Linked DNA regions of Homo sapiens: region 1 is linked to region 2. The links are contacts of gene promoters, found by promoter capture Hi-C in blood cells and fetal thymus (Javierre and others, 2016). All regions are on one chromosome and are shown on one strand. Each heading gives the region's core, a stretch centred on a gene start or on the middle of the fragment in contact. The rest is flanking DNA. Distances are from core to core; before and after follow the strand shown. Region 1 holds the start of RUFY3 (RUN and FYVE domain containing 3). Region 2 holds the start of STAP1 (signal transducing adaptor family member 1).

What was found. The method cuts DNA at HindIII sites, captures the fragments that hold promoters and counts their contacts. A CHiCAGO score of 5 or more calls a contact.
Region 1: a fragment that was not itself captured here is called in contact with the fragment with the promoter of STAP1 in region 2 in 1 of 17 cell types (non-activated CD4 T cells); the score reaches 5.7 in non-activated CD4 T cells.

The regions. Positions count from the first base shown.
Region 1 is chr4:70,721,796-70,725,057 of GRCh38, forward strand. It overlaps RUFY3 (RUN and FYVE domain containing 3), which reads left to right and starts at 169. Exons shown (of 18, transcript NM_001037442.4): 1 at 169-956. The coding sequence starts at 779. The HindIII fragment of the contact is 1,757 bases long and covers 659-2,415 here.
Region 2 is chr4:67,556,902-67,560,086 of GRCh38, forward strand. STAP1 (signal transducing adaptor family member 1) reads left to right here and starts at 1,826. Exons shown (of 9, transcript NM_012108.4): 1 at 1,826-2,028. The coding sequence starts at 1,909. The HindIII fragment of the contact is 12,125 bases long and covers 1-3,185 here.

The DNA.
Region 1 (3,262 bases), core at 287-2,786, 3.2 Mb after region 2:
TGTTATGTCTGATCACAGTTTGACTAGCACAGTCTGGAAGTGGGTTGTACAGGATGAGAGAGAGAAGCCTAATTGCTCTCCCAGCATCAGCAGCATCTATAAAGCATCCTGGGAATTGCTTGCCCTACGTTCAGAGCAGCTGGTCACATGAGCCTGAATTTTCAGTTCAGTTCATTAGTCAGCCATTTTGGTCAACACCCTGCTTACTGCGCACGGCCAATCCTATGAGAACTCAGCATCCCAGCTCATCTGAGCAGATCCTGGAAGTGATTTCTGCAGCTCAGGATTTTTTTTTTAAGCTACATTGAAAATATAGGTTTATTTTTTGTTCAGGTTTTTCTTTTATATTTTTTTTCTGCACAAAGGAGGAGGATTTTTCACTTACTCATATCGAGGCCAGATTTTTAAAGCCAGCTAAGGCAGCATCAGCTGTGCGGGATTTAAAGCCTATAGCTCAGCTGAAAAAAAAGGTGGGGGGCAGGGAAGGGAAGATAAAAGGAGAGGAAGCTGGGAGAAGACAAGCATCATCTTATTTTGCTATGTGGTAGGAACTGTCTATAAGATAGTGTAGAATTGTTTATCTTGAGCAGTTTGTTCTTAACCTATAAGGTATTTTTCCTTTTTTTTTTTTTTAAACCTCCCCCACCCTTTTCCTGAAAGCTTTGTTTCAGAGCTTTGTATTGGGTTTTTTTGGTGAGGAGGTTGTATTTATTTTTTTGGTGTGTGTGTGTGAGTGTGTGTGTGTCTGTGTGTGTGTTGTGGTCCCAGCTGAGTCATCATGTCTGCTCTGACGCCTCCGACCGATATGCCAACCCCCACCACTGACAAGATCACACAGGCTGCCATGGAGACCATCTACCTTTGCAAATTCCGAGTGTCCATGGATGGAGAATGGCTCTGCCTGCGAGAGCTGGATGACATCTCACTTACACCTGACCCAGAGCCTACCCATGAAGGTATGGTCAGATCCTGTCCGCTAGTATTTCACCAGCATCCTCATTGTTATGGGGGAGGGCTGGGAGGATCAGGGAGAGGTAGAAAGAACCTACACTCTCAACTGTTAACAGTCCTGAAAACCTTGCATCCTTACTTACCACCCAGCTCCCCTTCTCTTGCTCATGGGGGAAAGATAATTTTTTTTCTTGCCCCTTTAGGTATCCTTTCAAAAGATGCTGGATACTCGTTTAGAGTTCTTTGTCTTTAAGCCTCTAAATAAAACATTTGAGGTCACTTATCACATCTGATTCTATTCAATAATGAGAAAGCTATTAATTTTGTTCATATATGAAAATGTTATAGAAATTGTAGTGATTTATAACACTAAGTTAAGACAACATGACTATAATTATAGGATTGTACATGATGAATACAGTAGAAACACCAGGGTATTTGGTAATGGTATCCTCACCATTATATGAGGATACAATTTTAAGCAAGTTATGACATCTAGGAAATGTTTGATAAAACATTTTTTTAACAATATGGATTATTAGGTTAGATGAGAAAATAACTTTTCAGCATTTATTTATTGAATATGGACTCCTAAGAAAGCATAATGCCTGGAAAGGTTAAATATGATTAATATGGCATCCCTATAGATTACAATAGAATGGTAATATTGGAATCTATTGGCCATTGCTTTTTATAAATTATTTGTGGTAACTATTATGATCCATTTGAGATTTCCACTGTCAGTACCTCTGAGATCTTTGTGGTCTCTTGACTTGCGACTTTTTTCCAGGACTCTTGCTAATTTATGAGAGGTTTTCTGCTTCTACCCTTTAATTCTCTTAATACCACAGAAAGAGAGCTGATTTGAATCATAGCTACAAATCGTTTTGTTTTTAATACAGTTGCTTCTTAGCTAAGGTTTATTCTCTGTCCTTATACTGATGAAAAAAAACAAAAAACGCTTGCATATGAGGAGAAATTCTTTATAAACATCTGCCTGATAGTTAGGCACATCGACAGGACAAAGAAGACCATAGGTGAATTGTACCTAGCAGATGGGGTTAGGAAAGGTGATTCTCTGCCTTTGACCTTGAGTTGAAATCTTATCATGACTCAGAATTTTCCCATTGTGTTTGATAAGCATTTTATCTTCCCAGTCAGCCTTAGCCTTGAGAAAGTTTTAGGGATGGTTAATAACACAGAACACAAAGCAGTCATTTTGGGTGTGTCTTTAAGAACAATGTTTAAGTGGTTTTTAAGACCCTTTGCATCTTTTAACAATTGGTTTGTTAATTAGACAGCTTTCTTTGGCTGTATGTTTCGTTATGTGCACAAGTTATAAGACATCAGCTGAAATTCCATGCAATGCCAGTACTATTTATTTTTTATTATTATTTTATTCTATATTTTCATCAAAACATCGTTACATCCAACAATTCCAGTACTACTTAAAACAGCCTCCAAAGCTTTAAAAGTCTTTAGGGAAGAAAAATACAGTTTTAGAAGGCTACCAAGAAGTCTTCTGGCAACTGCCTCAGTTTACATATTTTGTTTGAAAAAAATGTATTCCCGTCCAATTTGAGAGTTATACAATATGAAATATTCCCTTTATCATGAAATCTAGTTTACCAGTGTCTCAAAAATAATTTTTAACAATTTTAACACCTCAAATATATGTTTTTGGAGCAGGATTCCTATGGATAAGCAAAAGTGAGCTGTTTGGTTCATGTAAGCGTTTTTAGCAGCGCCATTTGAATTCTTCATAGAGAAATCTGTAGCAACACATTTCTCAGTATGGAAAATGTGTGAGAGCTATAATCTAAGTAATAAATTGTATGTCTGCTGATTAAAGAAATCAGATAAATACAGAGTTTCCAAGACCTGTAATCAACTATAGAGGATTTGGAAGAAAATAGAGAAATGCCGACAGTGCATTTTAGAATTTTGCCTTAAATTGGGCAAGAAAGCTATTATTTTAAATTACTAGAAATGAAAATAAAGAAAGCATAGTCCCATGAAAGCCTGTGAGTATTACTGCCTTGCTCCATTACCAAACTCTGGATATTTAAACAGTCATTTGGTCCCAAGAAATACCCACTTTTATGTTAATACCACTGATAGTTATTAGATTTAATTTAGCTATAAGCATTTAAGTGGTGGTCACCAGGCCCATGATTATGTGAATCTCACCTTGTTCACAAAATGGAACTCCTGATGTCTGGACGCGGGAGTATTCAGACTGCTTTCCGGGCTGATTCACAGAGGGAAAAACATCTGACCACCCAAATCCTAGAGTGAAGTCTCCTCACTC
Region 2 (3,185 bases), core at 576-3,075:
TTCTCTAACTTACTGATAATCAGTCCGTATTGTTCTACCTCACTTTGTAGACAATTTGTCATCCCATATCTACAGCTGCAGGATCAGTGGGACCCATACTGGTGGAGAAAACCATGCAGTCTCTCCATTAGGAAAGGAGAATCAGACTGAAGACTCCTGACTTGCTTTGATTTCTAATAATAGGCTGGTCTCACTGGGCCCAGGCTGTTCTAAATCTAGAGTAGTTCTGAAATACTGAGTGTGAAATAGGCAATGGTAGAAATTCTTAGGACCCCTGTAAGACAAATCAAAATTCCTTCTAGTATTCTTTTCTCCCATCATTTCCTGCACTGTGCTACGCCAAATCCAATCTCTTAAGGACCATTTCCTACATGCAACCATTGAGTGCACTTTGGCCCCAGTATAGCTTTATAAATCTCACTAGATAACTGTGGGAAGTCCATCCATGAATCATAGTATCAATGGTCTGCAGCTCAGAAAGCACAAAAGAACAAAATAAAAGTTTGAAAACTTACAGCTTTCTCTGCCAGATATTTTTTTGCCAAATATCTTAGACTCCTTTGTGTTGCTGTAACAGAATGCCACAGACTGGTAATTTATAATGAACAGAAATGTATTTCGCTCATGGTTCTGGAGTCTGGAAGTCAAAGAACATGGCCAGCATCTGATGAGGACCTTCATGCAGCATCATTCCATGGCAGAAGATAGAAGAGCAAGAGAGGATGATAGCATGTGAGAAAGTGCCAAACTTGATTTTATAAAAAACCCACTTCCAGGCCAGGTGCAATGGCTCACACATGTAATCCCAGCACTTTGGGAGGCCACAGCAGGAGAATCGCTTGAGCCCAAGAGTTTGAGACCAACCTGGGCAACATAGGGAGATACTGTCTATACAAAAAATGAAAAAGTTAGCTAGGAGTGGTGGCGCGTGCCTTGTAGTCCCAGCTACTTAGGAGGCTGATGTGTGAGGATTGTTTGAGCCTGAGAGGTCAAGGCTGCAGTGAGCTGTGATTGCACCAGTGTATTCCAGCCTGGGCAACAGAGCAAGACCCTGCCTCTGAAAAAAGAGAAAGAAACCCACTCCCACAGCATTAATTAATTCATTCATTCATGAGGGCAGAGGCCTCATGACTTAATCACCTTCTAAAAGTCCCATTTCTAAACACTGTTGCATTGGGGATTAAGTTTCTAACACATAAGTTTTGGAGGACACATTCAAAACATAGCACTAAATATTCATTGGGAACTCATGTACTTGGAATATCTACTGGCAAAAAAAAAAAAAAAAGAAAGAAAGAAAAAAGAAAAAAATTCCATATTCCGTGTTCCCATAATTGTGGTTTATATTTAGTGAAGCATCAAATGAGCATGAGATACAACTATTTTTTTTATTTACACAAAACTTGACCCTAAAATATTTAACCAACAGAAGTAGTACTAATAAAATTATTCTATGAAGTAATTTTTAATGAAGCTGAGTTTATTCAAGTCATGTCTTCTGCAAATAAAAATGGACACCAATAAACAAAAACAAAGATAGAAAGAATAACTGTGTTCTTGATATCTCCCCTAAAGTTCACAATCTCTACACCTGTTTCTTTCATCTTCTGGTGATGTTAATCTTCTGTTTATTTTGCGCTTTAAATCTAAGCACATGTGGATTACCCAGAGATTGCCCTCTGAAAGTCAGTCTACACCTGTTCTTTCTTACCTCACAAAAAGTAATGGAAAAAAAAGTGTGTGTGTGTGTGTGTGCGTCTGTGTGTGTGTGTGTCCTGTTGGTGGTAGTGTTGGTGGTTAAAAAGCAATTTGGGACTTCCTCTTTGAACAGTTGCCTTTTCCTCTCACAGAAGGAAGATTTCATTTTGTTTGAGACGAGAAACCAAACCACACACCAAAGAGAGGGGTATGATGGCTAAGAAGCCCCCAAAACCAGCCCCTCGCAGGATCTTCCAGGAAAGGTTAAAGATTACTGCTCTACCTTTGTACTTTGAAGGTTTTTTATTAATCAAGCGGTCAGGATACCGGGTGAGTCTATAGATGATAATGTTAAACCTAAGACTTCTGTTTTAATTTAATATTTATTTCATGGTGATGTGATGTGTTAAGACCTCCTTGTTTCTGTTGAAATTAAATCATCTTCTCTTCTTTGAGCTCAGAAAAATGATTCCAATTTTTCATAATTTAAATACAATGTCTGGCTTAAACCTGTATGTATACACATATATAATATGTATAATAACAGAGGTTGTAATATTAAGGCACTAATATAAAAAAGTCAATAAGCTAAATTTCCAAAGAATTTATTTAAATATCACAAAAGATTTTGGCTTGGGAGATAAAATGTTTCTTGTATTTTCTCCACAATTTATTGCTATGCTTCAATGATGACATGTACCATTAAGATAAAATGATATCATGATTAAAATTAAACCTGCTCCTGTTCTGAGTCATTTGAAGTTTATAATGATCAAATTATTAAAAATGGCTTTTGTAAAAATTGTTAAAATGACAAAGTTCATACTGTTTAACATTATATATAGTTATGTGTTCTAAAATACTATTCAAGATAGTGACTTTTAATTTTTGGGGTACTACTGTGGGTATTAAGTACACTAAGCTACATAAATACCTTTGCTCTAAGAAAATCCATGAAGCATTCTGTATTTTTAAATGTAATAATTAAAACTTATAGTTAGTTAAAATCATTACTTTTAAAACAGTAATTATGGATGACTTGAAATTAATTAGAGAAATAAGCCCAAAATTGCCTGTTATTAAATAAAAAAATCATTAAGTTAGGTCAAATTTTATGAAATTGTATACTGACTAAAACTAGAAAAATTTTAAGGTTTTCAGAAATTCCATCAGAAATGTTTAATGATGCTAAAATATATTTTCTGAGGATTTATGAATACTTGTGGAAAAATTATATATATGAAAAATCTATAATAGCATATTCACATTTCTTACATATATAATCAGATCATTTACTATTTGAGAGTAAAGACATGGTAATTTGTATTCTGTTATGGATGTTAAACATGCATAAATAATTACCTTTCAGTTATATTAGAATTTTTTAGATTGATCCTATATGCTTTTAATGTAAATTCAATCTTGTCACCACAGGTAAGCCACATAGTCACACTTTGCCAGGAAAGGGAAGTTGAGAAAAAAAAATT